Linked DNA regions of Homo sapiens: regions 2, 3, 4 and 5 are each linked to region 1. The links are contacts of gene promoters, found by promoter capture Hi-C in blood cells and fetal thymus (Javierre and others, 2016). All regions are on one chromosome and are shown on one strand. The core of a region is centred on a gene start or on the middle of the fragment in contact, and the rest is flanking DNA. Distances in the headings are between cores, read along the strand shown. Region 1 holds the start of RRAGC (Ras related GTP binding C). Region 2 overlaps INPP5B (inositol polyphosphate-5-phosphatase B). Region 3 overlaps SF3A3 (splicing factor 3a subunit 3). Region 4 overlaps UTP11 (UTP11 small subunit processome component). Region 5 overlaps MIR3659HG (MIR3659 host gene).

The links. Contacts are between HindIII fragments. The CHiCAGO score rates a contact against its expected background, and 5 or more counts as called.
Region 2: a contact is called between a fragment that was not itself captured here and the fragment with the promoter of RRAGC in region 1, in 1 of 17 cell types (erythroblasts). The highest score is 5.9, in erythroblasts.
Region 3: a fragment that was not itself captured here is called in contact with the fragment with the promoter of RRAGC in region 1 in 1 of 17 cell types (endothelial precursors); the score reaches 5.4 in endothelial precursors.
Region 4: a fragment that was not itself captured here is called in contact with the fragment with the promoter of RRAGC in region 1 in 5 of 17 cell types (M1 macrophages, erythroblasts, monocytes and 2 more); the score reaches 6.8 in M1 macrophages.
Region 5: a fragment that was not itself captured here is called in contact with the fragment with the promoter of RRAGC in region 1 in 1 of 17 cell types (M0 macrophages); the score reaches 5.7 in M0 macrophages.

The regions. Positions count from the first base shown.
Region 1 is chr1:38,857,931-38,861,607 of GRCh38, forward strand. RRAGC (Ras related GTP binding C) reads right to left here and starts at 1,842. Exons shown (of 7, transcript NM_022157.4): 1 at 1,480-1,842. The coding sequence starts at 1,716. It overlaps RRAGC-DT (RRAGC divergent transcript), which reads left to right and starts at 1,963. Exons shown (of 2, transcript NR_186075.1): 1 at 1,963-2,309. RefSeq lists a silencer at 1,372-2,131 and an enhancer at 1,767-2,061. The HindIII fragment of the contact is 4,947 bases long and covers 1-3,677 here.
Region 2 is chr1:37,885,540-37,889,216 of GRCh38, forward strand. INPP5B (inositol polyphosphate-5-phosphatase B) reads right to left here. Exons shown (of 24, transcript NM_005540.3): 10 at 2,704-2,805; 11 at 1,812-1,926; 12 at 1,349-1,465; 13 at 99-286. Among named protein-coding and RNA genes, the nearest start is that of MTF1, 28 kb to the left of the region's middle. The HindIII fragment of the contact is 376 bases long and covers 1,896-2,271 here.
Region 3 is chr1:37,966,058-37,969,734 of GRCh38, forward strand. SF3A3 (splicing factor 3a subunit 3) reads right to left here. Exons shown (of 17, transcript NM_006802.4): 13 at 3,514-3,677; 14 at 3,297-3,407; 15 at 1,987-2,077. Among named protein-coding and RNA genes, the nearest start is that of INPP5B, 21 kb to the left of the region's middle. The HindIII fragment of the contact is 3,010 bases long and covers 372-3,381 here.
Region 4 is chr1:38,019,124-38,022,800 of GRCh38, forward strand. It overlaps UTP11 (UTP11 small subunit processome component), which reads left to right. Exons shown (of 8, transcript NM_016037.4): 5 at 1-29; 6 at 130-260; 7 at 3,576-3,677. Among named protein-coding and RNA genes, the nearest start is that of UTP11, 8.2 kb to the left of the region's middle. The HindIII fragment of the contact is 2,007 bases long and covers 794-2,800 here.
Region 5 is chr1:38,071,619-38,075,295 of GRCh38, forward strand. All of the region lies in intron 1 of MIR3659HG (MIR3659 host gene), which reads left to right. Among named protein-coding and RNA genes, the nearest start is that of MIR3659, 16 kb to the right of the region's middle. RefSeq lists an enhancer at 1-218. The HindIII fragment of the contact is 5,724 bases long and covers 1-3,677 here.

The DNA of each region.
Region 1 (3,677 bases), core at 592-3,091:
GCCTGGGCGATGAGCAAGACTCCATAACAAACAAACAAAAAAAAAAGGATCACAATAATCACAACCTACACAGTTCTAACATAAAACTACTTTGCCTCTTACTGTCTAGAAGAGAAAAGTGAACAATTACTCTCAAGGTTTTCTCAGTAACAAATGTGAATAACTGAAATTAGTTTACTAAAAACCTACAGTCAACGTACCCAAGTTTTGCTGTAGAGGTGAAAATCAAGGTAAATAAAACACAGTACTCCAGCAAACCTGGAAGAACGCTGCTTTTTAAAAAGATCCCATCTACAAAATATCACAGATTCAGAAAGAAAAAAAAATCACAGATTTATTTTGGATAGGCCTTTGCAACAGAGTGGAGAGGTGAAAAGACCAGGTGCCTGCTGATACTAGTTTTATTACCAGCTCACTCCGCGTATAATGGGTTTGGCTGATGGAGGAAGTCAACCTTGCCTCTATTTAACCCTCACTAAACAGTGTAGGCCAGCGTGGTGACTCACACCTGTAATCCCAGCACTTTGGGAGGCCAAGGCGGATGATCACTTGAGGTCAGCAGTTCGAGATGACCCTGGCCAACATGGTGAAACCCCGTCTCTACTAAAAATACAATAATTAGCCGGGCGTGGTGGCGCGCGCCTGTAATCCCAGCTATTCGGGAGGCTGAGGCGGGAGAATTACTTGAACCAGGGAGGTGGAGGTTGCAGTGAGCCGAGATTGCACCACTGCATTCTCCAGCCTGGGCGACAGAGCGAGAGACTCCGTCTCAAAAACATAAACAAACAAACGTGTACAGCCCTCCATTTGTTCATGAAGGCCCAAAAGTGAAAACAAACAGACTAGGTCTGCAAAATATTCTCAAAGTCTCAGATTTTTAAAAACACACCCCTACAGGGGGAACAGCACCAGTAATTACATTCACCAGGCCACAACTACTGAAATGGGTGCAATCTCACTACCCAATTCCCAGTAATGCTACAGCGAAGTCTCCTTCACATCAGTAGCGAGAATTACAACGCCCAGTGTCTTAGTCACAACTCTTCCTGACGCTGCTCCCTGGGGCTCTGCTGGGAATCCCGAAACACTCAGGTCACCTGAAGTGAGAACAAATCAAAACGGGCCAGGGGAGGGAGTCCACGAAGTTCTCCAAGTGAGAACTGGAGAGTACGTCTCAGTTTCGTAAATGACACAGGAGCTGGGTCCCAGGGGGCGGAGGTCTTGGGCGGTGCCACCGGGCACCTGCCTCCCGGCAACCAGTTTCGCCTTCAGCGCTCCACTTGGCTTCAGCTGACTTGGGCGTGGACACAGAGGTCGGGGTCCCCGCGCGGGCCGCGCCTGTGCGCTCGCAAGAGTGGAAGAGAAAGTGCGGAGGGACGGAGCGCAGGCGGGCCCCGGCCGCCGCCCTCCCGGGCGTCCCCGCTACCGGCCACCTGAGAACCGGGGAGGGGGCGGGGGACTGGGCGCAGCCCTGCTCACCTTCTGGATGGAGGACTTGCCGCTGCGCCGGAGTCCCATGAGCAGAATCCTCGGCTTGGAGCTGTCAGCGCCCCCCGGACCACAGCCACCGCCTGCCCCTGCCCCAACCCCTCCGCCCGCCGCCGCCGCCTCCTCTTCCTCCTCCTCCACGCCGTAGCCGAAGTCCTTTGGAAACGAATCGGCCGCGCCGTAACTGCCGGCGAGGGGCGTCTCCTCCGCCCCGTACTGCAGGGACATGGTGCTGGAGCCGCCGCCGCCCGCGCCCTGACAGGCCAGGCCAGGCCGAGCCAGGCCGCCGCCTCCCCAGTCCGCCTCCGCCGCCGCCGCCACCACCGCCACCGCCCCCGGCAGCCGCCACAGTCCGGCCCGCCCCCCGGAGCCCGGCTCTCATAGGCCCCGAGCCGAAGCCCAGCCGCTTATTGGCCGCCCGAGCTGCTACTCGAGAGCAGCAGGGTAGGTGGTGCCCCGTCACGTGCCGGAATCACCTGACTCAGAGCCGCGGAGGGGGGAGGAGGAGTCACGAGGAGGGCGGCCCGGCCGCGCCTCTAGCCCCGGCTCGGGCCCTCAGCCCTCCGCCCCGGCCCGCATACAACGCTGTCTGCACCGCTCCCCTGCCTTCTTCCGGGCTCCCAGAGCACCGCTATGGAGATGCTCTCCCGGCATTTGAGGAAGAATTGATTGTCCTCATCCTGCAACTGTACTTGCCCAACCGATATTTATTGATGCCTGCAGTGTCCTGGGTGCCTACCAAGGGGCACAGAACTGGATCCGACGCAGACCCTGCCTGCCTTCAGGTTGCTTGAAGATGAACAGAGAGATCGGACCTCTGCGTAAGTAACCTCGCTACGAAATATTATGTGGGAAGGTCACGGATAAATAATGCTCGGGAGTTGAATGAGAAAGCGTCTGAGCAGATCTAGGTGGATGGATAGATTGGGATGTGCAAAGGTATGGGGGAGCCAGCCACACTGAGGGCAAACCTCAACCAAGGCAGAGTCATGGGTCACCGTGATAGTTTGTTCTAGCAGGTAGCTGGACCCTGATGGGAAAGCAGATGCAGCCAAGCTAGAACATCTTATCTTCTTTCTTCAGTAAGTCGCCGATAGTGGATACTGCTGCCACTTCAAACCCAACGGGACTCAATTTGCCCTCCTTCCCGCCTTGTCAAAGTCTACTCTAGGAATTCCATCCCCCATAGAACACTGCCTCTTCTATGACCTCGTTCAGATTAGAGACCAAAGTATTGAATAATGAAAGCAAACAAAAGCAAATGCTTGTCACCAAATATGTCCGAGAAATCTAGAGGAATTTTTATTTTTGATAATCAGGCTCTAGAACTGGAAGTTTGAGAAGAGGATCCTCTTAAAGCACAGCCCTATACACTTTTTAAAGTACAGGAGTGGGGGTGCTCCCAGCCCTCCAAGGAGACTGACTTCTTGATTATGAAGGAAAAATTCGCACATGCGGGCAGGTCTGGGACTTTGGTTTTGTCTGAACCCAGAAGTTAGAGGTAGGATACACCCTTAGAGGTCATCTAGCCCAACCTCTCACCTAAAACGAACCAACTCTATAGTGTCTAATAGACATGCAGAATGCACTTAAATAGTTCGAAGGTAAAAGAGCTCACCATCTCGAAAGGCAGCCAACTCCACTGTGGTAAACCTTTGTTTAAAAATTGTTAAAGCCGGCCGCGCGGTGGCTCACGCTTGTAATCCCAGCACTTTGGGAGGCAGAGGCGGGCGGATCATGAGGTCAGGAGATCGAGACCATCCTGGCTAACATGGTGAAACCCCATCTCTACTTAAAAAAATACAAAAAATTAGCCGGGCGTGGTGGCGGGCGCCTGTAGTCCCAGCTACTCGGGAGGCTGAGGCAGGAGAATGGCTTGAACCCAGGAGGCGGAGCTTGCAGTGAGCCGAGATCGCGCCACCGCACTCCAGCCTTGGCGACAGAGCGAGACTCCGTCTCAAAAAAAAAAAAAAGTCTTAAAGCCAAACCACACTCCCTGAAGCCTATAATAGAATAAAATAGGAATAGTCTTCACCTTTTTCATGACAGCCCTTCAAATACCAGATTGCAGTATTCATTACCCACTAAGTCTTCTCTGTTCCTTGCTGAACATCCTCAGTTTCAACCATTCCTATCGTGCTGTTCAATACAACTGATATACATGATAGACATGTTCTTTATCTGCACTG
Region 2 (3,677 bases), core at 834-3,333, 970 kb before region 1:
CAATAGGAAACCACCACCAGGCATCTCCCCATGAAAAGACAGAGCCCACAACTCTATGTACTCATGGTGAACCGCATGGGGTGGAAGCCCAGACTCACTCATGGTTGCTGATGGTGAGAGGGGGAAGGCTTGGGTCAGGCTGACAAAACTGCATTCGAGAACAAATGTCCTTATAGTCCTGGTTCCTCCTCTCATACTCTTCAATGTGGGCTGCCAAGTGAGAATTCACAACGCAGATGCTGGTGTTGTGGAACTGGAACCTGATCGCCACGCCTCCCTTGTTGCCCTATGGAAAGGATCCCCAAAGAAATCCAATTCAAACTTAATTGTGTCAGTCACTTAAACCTACAAACTTTCTGGCCGGGCACGGTGGCTCACGCCTGTAATCCCAGCACTTTGGGAGTCCGAGGCGGGTGGATCATGAGGTCAGGAGTTCAAGACCAGCCTGGCCAAGATGGTGAAACCCCGTCTCTACTAAAAATACAAAAATTAGCTGGGTGTGGTGGCAGGCGCCTGTCATCCCAGCTACTCGGGAGGCTGAGGCAGAGCACTGGTTGAACGCGGGAGGGAGAGGTTGCAGTGAGCTGAGATCACGCCACTGCACTCCAGCCTGGGAGACAGAGTGAGACTCCATCTCAAAAACAAACAAACAAAAAAAAAACCCTACAGACTTTCAAAATGTTTTGTCTTAATCTTTATAATAATCCTGTGGTATTATCTATATTGTACAGATTAAAAAAAAAAAGAAGGCAGAATGACTAGCCAGTCAATGGCAAAGCTGAATCCACAACCTAACTCTCTCGAACTCCTGGCCTCAAGTGATCCACCCACCTCAGCCTCCCAAAGTGCTGGGATTACAGGTGTGAGCCACCACACCCAGCCCCAAAACCTAGCTCCCTTAATCCAGTGTTCTTTTCACTAAATCACAGGCAAACCATAGGTACCCTTTGAAAACACAAAGCTAAGCTCTCACAGAAGAACCTAAAAACAGAACTTTAATGGCCTCAATAAGAAGAGGAAATTGCAAACCTACTGTCAGCATTCTTTGTTTTTCTGAATGACCCAGCATAGTTTCTGCAACATACTTCATGGGTGAAATGGGAGGATCAACTGGAGGCTCTAGTGTTGGGGAATATGAGGACAGGCGCTAATTGGTTAAATCAGCAGGTAGTTCACTAAAACAGTTTCTAAATAGTTTGCTCGACTGAGCCCTGCTTGAGGGTATGATTCATCTTGGAATATTGGCACCTTCAAACTGGGACACGTGTAGTCACTGTGTCATCAGAAGTGGTCAATACCTCAGGAGCTAAGGTCCTCAATGTGCCAAACAAACCAACCAAGGACTCACCATCCTCCCCATGATTCCTGTCCCCACAGTCTCGGCTTCCACTTCTGAGATATAAGCTGCATGCTCCTGTTTGACATATAACAGCAGCATAATCCCAACCAGTCGGATAAGCTTCACCTGGAAAAGAGAGACATGGCATTAAATAGAAATTGCAAACAGGAATAAATACCCCAAAGGAAACATAGTCTGGAAGCTGGCTGAGAGTATTCACGTGTCTCCTTCTCCACACTAGAACACAGGTAATCATCTGTTCAATTCACCAAGCATGCTATGTGCTAACCTACGAGTGGCGAGACCCTGCATCTTTCCCACCCGGAGGCACCCCTTCTGGAAGATCTGGAAATGAAAATTGCGGGATAATTAAGACTGGCTTAAGATAAAGGTCATGGAAAAGGTGAAAAATGATCTTGGAATTTCCCTGCATGGCAACATAAAATTAAGAGGTCCCTGACTCCTCTCTTACCTTTGCATATTTGGCATCTGGATGAAGACCCTCTGACACAGCTTTGAACCACTCTTCCTCCTTTGGGGTATCGTGAAAGAAAAAAGCTTCCTTACTCAGATCAAGCTCCTGGAACCTATTTTGAGAAGCAACCAGTTAGATAGTAAAGAAAAGTAATGTGCAAATGACACATTCTCAGATTGGTTTAGGTGCATAAGCCCTAGCTTTCTAGCTAAACTTCAGGACCCTCAGGAGGAAAAAATAAACATTTAGAGCCAAGGAACTAAATGCCAAGGAACTTTGCAGGTGCTGTTGCAAACAAAAACCCATTTTCTTTTCATGACCAGCCTATGAAGTAGTTCGAAGTGTCCCTATTTTACATCTGTAACCCCTAGTTCACACAAGCACCAAGTGGCAAACTGGGATTCAAACCTTGGTCTACATAAATTATGAATTCTAGTTCTTTTCAATATACCATACAAGCTTTGCTGCCCCTCCCCACTAGTAATGCCCAGTATAGAGATGAGAAGATTAAAAAAAAAAAAGACTAACTGATGGGACTTTCTTCAGCTAACCTTTCTTCTCTGGCAGAAGATAGTTTTGCTTTGTAACCAAAAATGTATTGAATGTCCAAGCAATAAAGTTCAGTTCAGGATGCACTGAGTTCAGGATGCAATTCAGGATTTTAACAGAAGATTACACTAAAAATTAAATACTAGCACTTAAATGCCAAGCACCCCACTTTAATAGTGGCAGACATTTGCTTGCCATGAGGAAGAACATCAAACAGGGAAACAGCTGTTATCAGGCATCTGTTCATTTTTCAAATCCTTCACCTGTTGTGAAGACCCATCCTTCAACCACAGCTCTGTGTGCTTGAAGATGGAGAGGGGACTAGAAGAGAAGCACTCACCCTACACAATAGACATCTGGGGCCTGGATACCATTGCTCAGCCACAGCCGGAGGCATTCTTTGGGGGACTGCCCATTTACATTGTATGTTCCCGCAAAAAACCTGTCACCAAAGAGAAATAATTAGTGACTCCGAATCACTATGGAGATAACAGGAGAAAGCATTTTATGCTGATTTATGCTGGTTTCCGTCTCTGTGGACTGGCATTTTGAGACATAAGAAATGTCATTTCTAACCTAGACCAGGACTGCAGCACCAAGGAGTGACTTGCGGTCTGTCATGGTATCTGTTACTTTTGTGATAACAACTTCAAATAGTATAGGCCTACTCCGAACATTCCCACTTCCTTTAAACAGCCATTACCCAGGCATTATCTGCATAATTATTTGCCTTGTATATACTACTGAAATGAAAAAATGAAAAGTGCTTTGGTAATTACTTTTGGCAAGAAAGCAACACCAGTATTCAAAAGGCTATTTCTTCACCATAATTCACAGTTTGTATCCCTAGAAACAATGTTATTTTATCTTATAGTCCCAATGCAACGATTTTGAAAGATCTAGCAGAATCCCACAACCTTTATTAATTTAGCTTTTAGTAATCTTGCCTAAAAAGATTACCAAACACCAGCTAACTTCATTTTAGTAATTTCATTTTAAATGACTTTCTTCAAAGGCCCAGAATGCCAAGGGAGTATAAAACCTTGGAGGGATACATAAGAATCAAGAGGCCAGGTGTGGTGGTTCACACTTATAATCTCAACAATTTGGGAGGCCAAGGCGGGAGGATTGCCCAAGCCCAGGAGCTTGAGACCCATGTGGGCAACACAGTGCGACCCTGTCTCTACAAAAATTTAAAAATCAGCACATGTGTATTACCAGCTACTCCAGCAGCTGAGGTGGGAGGGTTACTTGGGCCCAGGAGGCTGAGGGTACAGTGAGCTGTGACTGCACCACTGCACTCCAGCCTGGGCA
Region 3 (3,677 bases), core at 627-3,126, 890 kb before region 1:
CCAGGCGTGGTGGCGAGCGCTTGTAATTCCAGCTACTCGGGAGGCTGAGGCAGGAGAATCGCTTGGAACCAGGAGGTGGAGGTTGCAGTGAGCTGAGATCACGCTACTGCACTCCAGCTTGGGTGACAGAGCAAGACTCTGTCTCAAAAAAATAAATAAATAAATTAATTAATTAAATTAAATTAAAAAAAAAGAAGAAAAGAAAAGGCTGCCATGAAAATGTTAATGGCAGAGAAAGCTACTACTGCTGGGAAAACAGGAAGCCTGGCGGTGGTCCTCTATGTGCTTCAGCAGCACATTCCCTGACATGCACTCCGCTTCACTTTCTTCAAGAGGTATTTTGCTGCTGTGTTTCTATAGCCTCTAACACAAGCTTACTGAGGGTACTTCTATATTTTCCTTTATATCAGTCATTATTTAACACATTAAAATCAATTCAGAAAACTATCCATACAACCATTCAATCAAAATCTTGCATAAAAGGGAGTTCACAGACCCAGGCTAAAAGCCCTGGTTTATACTCAGCACAGAGCTCTTCTCAAAGGAGAAACAATCAGTATTGCCGACTAATTCATTTCTCTTAAAAATGCAATAATTAGCTGGGCACGGTGGATCACGCCTGTAATCGCAGCACTTTGGGAGGCCGAGGTGGGCAGATCACCTGAGGTCAGGAGTTCAAGACCAGCCTGACCAACATGGAGAAACCCGTCTCTACTAAAAGTACAAAATTAGCCAGGCATGGTGGCGCATACTTGTAATCCCAGCTACTCGGGAGGCTGAGGCAGGAGAATCGCTTGAACCCAGGAGGCACAGGTTGCAGTGAGCCGAGATCGCACCATTGCACTCCAGCCTGGGCAATATGAGCGAAACTCCATCTCAAAAAAAAAAAAAAAAAAAAAAAAAATGCAATAATTAGGCGCGGTGGCTCACGCCTGTTATCCCAGCACTTTGGGAGGCCAACATGGGTGGATCACTTGAGGTCAGGAGTTCGTCACCTCAACCAGCCTGGCCAACATGATGAAAGCCCATCTCTACTAAAAATAGAAAAATTAGCTGGGCATGGTGGCACATGCCTGTAATCCCAGGTACTAGGGAGGCTGAGGCAGGAGAATTGCTTGAGCCCAGGAGACGGAGGTTGCAGGAGCCAAGATCGTGCCACTGCACTCCAGCCTGGTGACAGAGTGAGACTCGTCTCAGAAACAAAGGCTGGGCATGGTGGCTCACGCCTATAATCCCAGCACTTTGGGAGGCTGAAGTGGGCGGATCACCTGAGGTCGGGAGTTCAAGGCCATCCTGGCTCACACAGTGAAACCCCGTCTCTACTAAAAATACAAAAAATTAGCCAGGTGTGGCGGCTCATGCCTGTAATCCCAGCACTTTGGGAGGCCAAGGCGGGCGGATCATGAGGTCAGGAGATCAAGACCATCCTGGCTAACACTGTGAAACCCTGTCTCTACTAAAAACACAAAAAATTAGCCAAGTGTGGTGGCGGGCGCCTGTAGTCCCAGCTACCGGGAGGCTGAGGCAGGAGAATGGCATGAACCCAGGAGGTGGAACTTGCAGTGAGCCGAGATCATGCCACTGCACTCCAACCTGGGCGACAGAGTGAGACTCCGTCACAAAAAAAAAAAAAAAAAAAAAAAAAAAAAAAAATTAGCCAGGTGTGGTGGCACGTGCCTGTAGTCCCAGCTACTCGGTAGGCTGAGGCAGGAGAATCGCTTGCGCCCGGGAGGCAGAGGTTGCAGTGGGCCAAGACTGCACCATTACACTCCAGCCTGGCGACAGAGCGAGACTCCATCCATCTCAAAACAAAACAAAAAAACACAAAACAAAAAACAGAAATGCAATAATTATACAACTGTCCTAGATTTTACATATCCACAACCTACTGCCTTTAACCCTGGATACACAGGGTATTAGGATGCTGAATTGAAGGAGTAGAGCCATTTGTACTCGCCTAGGAGACAGTAAATAAATCTTACTTACAGGAGACAGCATCTTCAATCTGTGTCACATTAGCAAAGTGAGCAGTGTTTGGGATGCCCAAACACCTCATGCCATGAGCATGACGCCATTCCTGGGAGAAGAGAGAAGCAAAAGGATCATGTGAAATGGGAATAGCTGAACACAGAGCACTAACTCCATTCTACTCATAAATCCTAACATGGCCCTTTGCAAGACTCCACCTAAAGGTAGCATTCCTTTTGTGATTCATGTTTGTAAACAGCTGGCTGTGACTGACAAAAGGGTGGTATTTCAAAGCAGCACTGCATTGTTTGCCTCACTGGGTTGGCTTGTAAACCTAGATTCTAGACCCAGTAGTCTTATACATAAAACCTCTGGGTCAAGATCACAGAAAAACATCACAACTCTCACTACATCTCCCATATTGCAGGAGAACTTACCAAAGCCCCAGCAACTCCAAACACCTGCATGAATAGGGGTTACTAATGGCAGGTCAGCATCATCTTTGTAGGTAAAGGAGAAGACTTTTATTAGGCACAATGATGTGGTGAGGAGAGAGCAGGGAGATTATACACTGACATGATGGCAGTTTTAACTAAGGGATGGTAAATGGCATGGGCTTTATCCTGGATGCCAACTCCAATCATTGTAGGAGGTGCTGAGAAGGATTCAGAACTCACTCATGGGCTCAGCAAAAAAGACCCATTATCAATTAGTAATATGTATGACTCAGAGAGGGGGAGAGGAGTTCATATAAATTTGTCATCCTTGGTCTAGCATAAATGTTTTCCTTTCTGTAAAATTTCCTTCCAAAATCTAAGAACTCTAAGTAGAGCCCACTTAGAGGTGAGCCCACTTACAGCAGTATCATCCGGACAATACCCTGTCTCAAGAATGGCTTGATAAATATCAGCCCCTTCATTTTTTATTTTCTCAAGAGGCAAAGATCCATTTAAGATCTGAAAGAGATCAGTCAGCCCTATTTTTTATCTTGAGTATTAGCAATGGGGTAGAGAAATAACCAAGAAGTCAGAAATTGGTCTAAAATGCTAGCAGAAAGACAAAAACAGAGAAGTTTAAGAGCAGGCAAGAGAAAACCAAATAAGGTTCAAAGAGTGGTGCGGTAGAATTCCTCCAGAAACTATCTCAGGTATTTAAGACTAACATTGGTGCCAAAAGTCAAATGCCATGGGCTTGATTTTAAAACCATCCTTCTCTGATTCCCTTCAGCTCTGGACACCAGTGGTCCACATAGGCTGCTCCTACTCTTTTCTCTAAAAGTCTCATGTTTTTACTTCAATTCCCAGGAAAAATGGCTCTGAATTCCTTACAGCAAAGTGTCGCTGGAAGGCTTTGGGCCCTCGGTAGGTGTAGTTTCCACAAATCTCACAGTTGTAGTTGATATTTAGGCCATGAAGCTTATACAGCCAGTAGGGAATAGGCTAAAAAAGAAAAAAACAAAACAAAACCAAGAAGTGTTAGCCTACTAAACTCTGTATCTGTTTCCAAAATGGGGAATGGGGAGAAAGTGGTAGTGCTGAGACTTACTTTGCCATCCCAGCCAAGTGGCAGGTTTTTGGGGTTGTAAATGATCTCGTTCTCTTCATCTTCACTCTCACTCTCACTGATCTGCTCTTCTTCCTCTTCTTCTCGCTCTTCTCCTGTCCTGGCTTGCTTGCGCTGTACATTTTCATGAGTGAGATGTCGCTGTT
Region 4 (3,677 bases), core at 547-3,046, 840 kb before region 1:
TGTGTTCTTTTTTGACACCAAAAAGGAAGGTATGAAATGTTTGAAGGTTTCTGGGACAGTCTACCATGCCAGTCTGTGTCATTTGGTGTTAGAAACCGACAGTGCCTTAAGGATTGTCTTGAATTTTAGTTGAACAGTTTGATGTCGCAACTCACCTGCAAACAGCCCCGGAGCTAGTCGACAGAGTCTTTAATAGGCCCAGGATAGAGACCTTGCAGAAAGAAAAAGTGAAAGGAGTTACCAATCAGACTGGACTTAAGGTAATTTTCTCTGTTGTTCTTCACATGTGAGCTTAGGGGAATCTAGGTGTTTTTTTTTTGTTTTTTTTTTTTTGCTACTGCATTTAAAATAATTTTTAAAATTTATTTTATTTTATTTTTTAGTCAGAGTCTCACTGTCTCCCAGGCTGGAGTGCAGTGGCACGATCTCGGCTCACTGCAACCTCCGCCTCCTGGGTTCAAGCAATTCTCATGCCTCAGCCTCCCCAGTAACTGGGACTATAGGGGTGCAACACCACACCCAGCTTATTTCTGTATTTTTCATAGAGATGGGGTTTCGCCATGTTGGCCAGGCTGGTCTTGAACTCCTGACCTCAGTTGATCTGCCTGCCTTGGCCTCCCAAAGTGTCGGGATTACAAGCGTGAGCCACTGTGCCTGGCCTAAAATAATTATTTATTTATGGAAAACTCATGAGTTCCCTTAGAAAAGTGGATTTGTAGGATGATTTGATGATGGGATGGAAGTGGAGAAGGGCTTCCTAATTTCTATGATCGGAGGAGGTATAGTGGTCAGAAGCTTAGGTTCTGGCCTTTAGACCTGGGTTTGAATCCCAATTCTGACCCTGCGCTTTGTGCTTTTAATACTTGTAACAGATGCCAGTGTTTTGAAAATGCAGAGAAAGGGATTGCTGAAGATTAAAGGATTTGCAATACTTTAATATTGAACCTTTAGCAGTGAATACGCACATCAAAAGGTCTTTCTGTGTTTTTATTTTTCTTGAGACAGGGTCTCACTGTCACCCAGGCTGGAGTGCAATGGTGTGATTATGGCTCACTGCAGTCTCCACCTTCTGGGCTTAAGCGATCCTCCTGCCTCAGCCTCCTGGGTAGCTGGGACCACAGGTGTGTGCCACCATGCCTAGCTAATTTTAAATTTTTTTTGTAGAAACGGGGTCTCGCTAAGTTGCCCAGGCTGGTCTTAAACTCCTGAGCTCAAGTGTTTACTCCCGCCTTGGCCTCCTGAAGTGTTGGGATTACAGGCGTGAGCCACCATGCCTGCCCAAAAGGTCTTTCATATTGTGTATTGTAACAAAAATTTTGTTTTGGCTTTTCCTTATGGTGCTTTCCGTCACTGTAACTGGGTTGTGCAGAAGACATGCTTTTCCTGAAAGCCTTCTGGAGTTGAACTCTTCTGACTGATTCATTAAAAAAAAATGCTGTCAATGTGTTTCAAGCAGACAGCTGTTCTGTTTTGATTTGAATCATTTACACTGCATCAGTTTTGCTTCCAATGTTTAATTTCACAGCAGTTTTCTCTAGCTCAGAGGCAGCTAAACTTGCTTTAGTAATATAAATACCCCTAATTAGTTTGACTATATTGGGTAATCCCATAAATCTGACAGTCTGTGCAATAAAGCGAAAACAAAAGCTGTCTGAAACCACTGCTGTGAGACTGTGCTAGAATCTGTGAATTGTTGAAGTCTAAGGCCCAGTAATATTTCCTTCTGTAGATAACACTTCCAGCCAAAGAGCTTGCTCATGAGTGTTCTTGTGATAACCCTGTTGTTTGTCAATTAGGTGTACTTTTTTTTTTTTTTGAGACGGAGTCTCACTCTGTCACCCAGGCTGGAGTGCGGTGGCGTGATATCGGCTCACTGCAACCTCTGCCTCCTGGGTTCAAGCAATTCTCTTGCCTCAGCCTCCCGAGTAGCTGGGATTACAGGTGCCCGCCACCACGCCTGGCTAATTTTTTGTATATTTAGTAGAGACAGGGTTTCACCATTTTGGCTAGGCTGGTCTTGAACTCCTGACCTTGTGATCCACCCACCTCAGCCTCCCAAAGTGCAGGGATTACAGGCGTGAGCTACCGCGCCCGGCAATTAGGTGTACTTTCAATTAGCCGTGTCACTGACGCTTCTCAAGAATTGTGGTAGTCCCTAAAGAGATTAGTATTCCAAATTCCCATGTAGAATAGTTCACCAGCATAGCTTTTGAGAAGTTAGGGAGGTTTAGATTTTTGCCATTTTTGTCTAGTAATTATGTTTCTTTCTATTTTGTTTACTGCAAAATCATTTTTATTAAGAGACTGCTGGTGGGTGGATTGCAAGGATATTTTGTCTGTAACTTCGAGTGGGTAGACAACCCATGAGTGAGCTTTAGGAGGTCTGAGAAAACCCCCCTTTCTCACTGGTATTTTGTGCAGATAGGTATATGTGCTTGCACAACCTTTTACAAATGTGTATGTACATTTATCTCAAGAAACATCCCATGCTGGGCGTGGTGGCTCATGCCTGTAGTCCCAGCAATTTGGGAGGCCAAGGCAGGTGGATCACTTGAGGTCAGGAGTTCGAGACTAGCCTGGCCAATGTAGTGAAACCCTGTCTCTACTAAAAATACAAAAATTAGCCAGGCGTGGTGGCGGGCACCTGTAATCCCAGCTACTAGGGAGGCTGAGGCAGCAGAATTGCTTGAACCCAGGAGGCGGAGGTTGTAGCGAGCCGAGATAGTGCCACTGCACTCCAGCCTGGGCGACAGAGCAAGACTCCGCCTCAGAAAAAAAAAAAAAAGAAGAAAGATCCCAAAGCTTTCATCAGTTTCTCTGAGGTTGATGATTCCCCAAAATGTAAGGACCCCACTGATCTTTGAGGAGTCATTAGCAGTGAGAATTCTCAGGTGAGCTTCTGCTGAAAAAATTCTTCTGCTTTCTGAGTGGTAAGATTTTCAGGCACCAGCACACTGCCTGGGGACCCTTCTGTTGCCGACTCTTCTGTTGCTCTCCATTCACTTTGTATAGGGTTTCCAACACTGATTCATTCCTGCCATCATCTCAGGTGACTGTGGCACTCACACAAAGGTTGAAGCAGCTTAGTGTAGTAGTGGAAAGATTCCTGGGATTTGTGAGAGGGGGACGGTCCTGACTCTGCTCCAGGTGAGCTGTGTGTCCTTGGACCACTTCTTCTCTGGGCCTCATTTTTCTGCGTTTGTAAATGACGGGTTTCGATAAGATAGTCTACAGGGTTCCTTTTTTAATTTTTAATTTTTTTTTTTTGAGACAGAGTCTCATTATGTTGCCTACGTTGGTCTGGAACTCCTGGGCTCAAGTGACCCTCCCTCCTCAGCCTCCCAAAGTGCTGGGATTACTGGCGTGAGCCACTGCGTCTGGCCCAGGGTTCCTTTCAGCTCCAGAATGTGATGTTCCTAAAATGGGCAACGTTATTGTTACCACGTTATGTTGATTCTGGTGAAAGAAGGGAGTTGATGAAACTATGCAGTTGGCTTAAATGGATTAAGAAACAGTTTCTTACTCATTTTTGTCCTGTTCATTGTTCACTGAGAATGTGTGTGTTTCTTCTCCAGCGAATAGCTAAAGAAAGGCAAAAGCAGTATAACTGCCTGACACAGCGGATTGAACGAGAGAAGAAATTGTTCGTTATTGCTCAGAAAATTCAAACACGCAAA
Region 5 (3,677 bases), core at 457-2,956, 790 kb before region 1:
TTGTTTCCAGTCATTAGGTTTTAGTCCAATTCGGAGTTGTCCCGATGGCTGTGTAAATCATGCCTGCACCCTGGAGAGCGTGAACTGCAGGGAGAAATCACGCCTGGGCCTGCAGGGGTGACAGCTCAAGCCTGAACAGCTGGACCCTGTGGGGAGTCGGCTGCTTGCACTGAGCTCCTCCTATTCTCCTTGCCCTGGATGGGGAAGGAACTATCATTAACTGAGCACCTAACGAGTGCCAGGAACTTTATAAACATCATCCTGAATCCTCACACCAGCCCCACAAACTAGGAATTACTATCACCATCTTAAAGAATGGAACTGAGGCTGGAAGAAGGGAGGTCATTTGCCTGAAGTTACACAGCTCAGCTGGTTTGTATCTGACACAGTCTGGCTTTGAGCTTAGGTTTATCTGGCTCCTACTGCATCTACTGCCTCCTAGTGTCATAGTTAGAAGAGACTGTAGAGAACTTAGCACAGTGCCACCCCTTCCACAAGCATTCCTTGGTTACTAGCTAGAGTCAACCCCTCTGTTGTCTGTTTCCTGTACTGACTTTGAACCACTTAGGAGGCTTTGCTCACACCCAGTGGCCTTCCATGACTCTCTACCTGCTGTGCTTTCTGATACATGGCTCCTTGGGCTTTTGCACACTCATAGCTATGCATCTAGTTCCAGGACTATTGAGTTCTTGTTTTTCTTCTTTTCTAAACCATAAGCTCCGTGAGGGTAGCGGCTACACCTGCTTGATTCGCCCGTGTATTTCCAGGATCTAGTATAGTATACAGCACATAAAGGTGATGGATAAATTTTTTATCGAGTGACTGGATGGAATAATGAATGAATGAATGTAGTCACACCAGGGAGGAGAAGGAGGAGATGTCAATATGGCCACACCTCCTCTGTGCAGGTCAGTTACATTCCCAAAGCCCAGTGGAGGTCTGAGTGGGTAGGGAGGATTCTGGAACCTCATGTCCAGGCCCCAACTCAGTGCCAATCTTAGCTTTCACCTCAACATCAAATTTTAGCCCTTGACCCAACTCAAACTCCAAACTTAGCCTCAACTCCTAATCCATTTCCAACTCTGATCTCAGCCTCAAGTCCAAACTCAACACCTGACCCCACCTCAGCTCCAACCTAATCACAGCCTTCACCTCAGCTATAGCCCCACCCCTATTTCCATTTCAAAATCAGCTTCTATCTCAGCCACAACTTAAATACAGATCCAACTTCCACCTTAGCCCCCATTCCAGACCTCAACCCCAGCATCACTAGTCAAAAGCAGTAGCTCCTCCTCACCTGTGAGCAGGGAGCAGCCATGGTCCTCAGATGTTGACTGTCCCATAAGCCTGTCATCCTTTCCCCCACCTGCCTTACAGCTTGGAGAGGGGAGGAGTCCTGCTGGCCTCTTGTGAGAACTCAGTAATATTTTTCCACACCCGTCTCATGGTTACAGTTCACAAACCACACACATGTCCATCAGCCCACCAGGTAGATCCCCTAACCGCTCAGGGAGAGGTCTGCATTTCTTTATGTTACACTGGCAGAAATGGAGGTTATTAAATGCTTTGGCTGGTTTGTGATAAAGGGGGTGCTCTAAGCCAGCTTTTCTAAGTTTCATGCTGTCCCTAGTCTCCCTGACCTGGGTAGAAGATGAGAGGGGCCCTTGGTTCTGTGTGTGTGGGTGTAACAGCAGGGACCCCTTACCCCCAGCCCTCAGCACCCTTGGGTGGTCTCCACTAAGGGCTATGACAGAAACATTCTGAATGTTTCCCACCCTGAGCTCAGGAGAGCTTGTATCAAGAGAGAGGCGAGTGATACAGGACTAGTGAAGTGTGTGGTGGATTTGAGGAGTGTTTGGTTAGGGGCCTGGCAGCAAACAGAATCTACTCCTAATGGTTTCTATGCAGCGACTGTGATGAATGGGCTACCTACAAAGGCCTGGGTGAAGATTTTAGGAAGCAGCAAGAGAGGTGGGGCTCCAGGGACTAGCAACAGTCAGAAGCCCTTACCACCTCAAGGGCTGATGAGACGAGGGGAGGGAATGGTGTTGTGGAGGAGGGAATGCCTGGTGCAAGCCGTAGTCATGGAGAAACACAGCCACTGCTAAAAATGTTGCCCAGGAAGGAGGGAGTGAGGAGGGAATCCCTGACCTCCCTCTTCCCCTTCCCTCCAACTTCTGCCGGTGCCTCCCACCAGCTGAACCCAACCAGGGGCACCCAGGCCAGGCAGTTCCCTGGGGTCAGTCTCCTGGGGCACAGCTCAGGGCTGAGAAGGGCAGGGTGTGAATCTGGGCCAGGGGATCAAATGGAGAATAAACAGCATGGGGAGAAAGCAAGAGCAAAGGGCAGGTCTTCCAGGAGAGACAGACAGACAAAGAAAAAGCAAGGGAGGTGGAGAGTGTGTGAGAGAGGGAGTGAGAAAGGGCTCAGCCATTTGTCTGGGCAGGTCTGCGGAACTCAAATCCGGCTCATCTGCATCTCCTCAAATAAACTTCTGGGAAGTGAATGCCTGAAGCAGGCAGAGTGCAGAGAAGTCAGCAAATATGTGCGTAGTGAATTCCAAGCCTTCTGTTCCCAGCTCCTGGGAGGGGCCGCAGTGCCTTGGGGTGTCCTGCCGTGTCTCCATCGGGTCCCCTGCCTGGCTGCTCTAACCCTGAGGAATGGCCTCCATTGTGGGCCTGTGGAAACAGGGAGAAGAATCTCTTATCCAGCAGGTCTGAGGGCCACAGGAACATAAGTAACACTGAAGAGTGAGGCTGATCCCTGGGGTTTGCGCGAGCCTGCAAATGCATGATTCAACAGCACTCGCCTGGTGCCTCTGGGAGGCAAGCTGGATGAGGATGTTGTTCCCATTTTATAGATGAGGAAACTGAGGCTCATTGGGAAGGGACTTTCCCAAGGCTATGTTATGAGTTAGTTGCAGAGCTTTGAACTTGGGCCCAGACTGAGCCTGAAACCTGACCTTACACTGAGTCCCAGCCCCAGTCCCTGAACATGGTCTCTGAACATGGCTCAGATTTTGCCCCAAAAGCATCTGGACCAGGAGGTTGGAGCGGCCTGGGATACCCCCTGAATACTTTCATACTAATTCTGCTATGGACAGATGCCTGCAATCCCCTAGAGGCTTGGACATTTTCCAAAGGAAACTTTTACTGAAGAAAGATCATCTTTATTTATGAAATACTTATTCCGTGCTGGGCACCATGCTAAGCACTTTGCATGAATTATCTCATTTAATTCTCTGAACAATTTATAAGTTTGAAACTATCATTATCCTCGTTTTACAAATGAAGAAACTGGGGCTCTGCGAGTAACCTTTCCAGTATCCCACAGCTAGTACATAGTGGAGCTAGGATTCAAACCCAGGTCTCGATGCCTCTGTAGGATTTCATTGTTAAGCTGCACTGCCTAACAGGGACCAGAAATTGTAGTTTTTCTTCTTCTCCTAAAAGCAAACATCCAGGCTGGGCACAGTGGCTCACGCCTGTAATGCCAGCACTTTGGGAGGCAGAGGTGGGCGGATCATGAGGTCAGGAGTTTGAGATCAGCTTGGCCAACATAGTGAAACACTATCTTTACTAAAAATACAAAAATTAGCTGTGCATGGTGGCGCACACCTGTAACCCCAGCTACTGGGGAGGCCGAGGCAGGAGAATCACTTGAACCTGGGAGGTGGA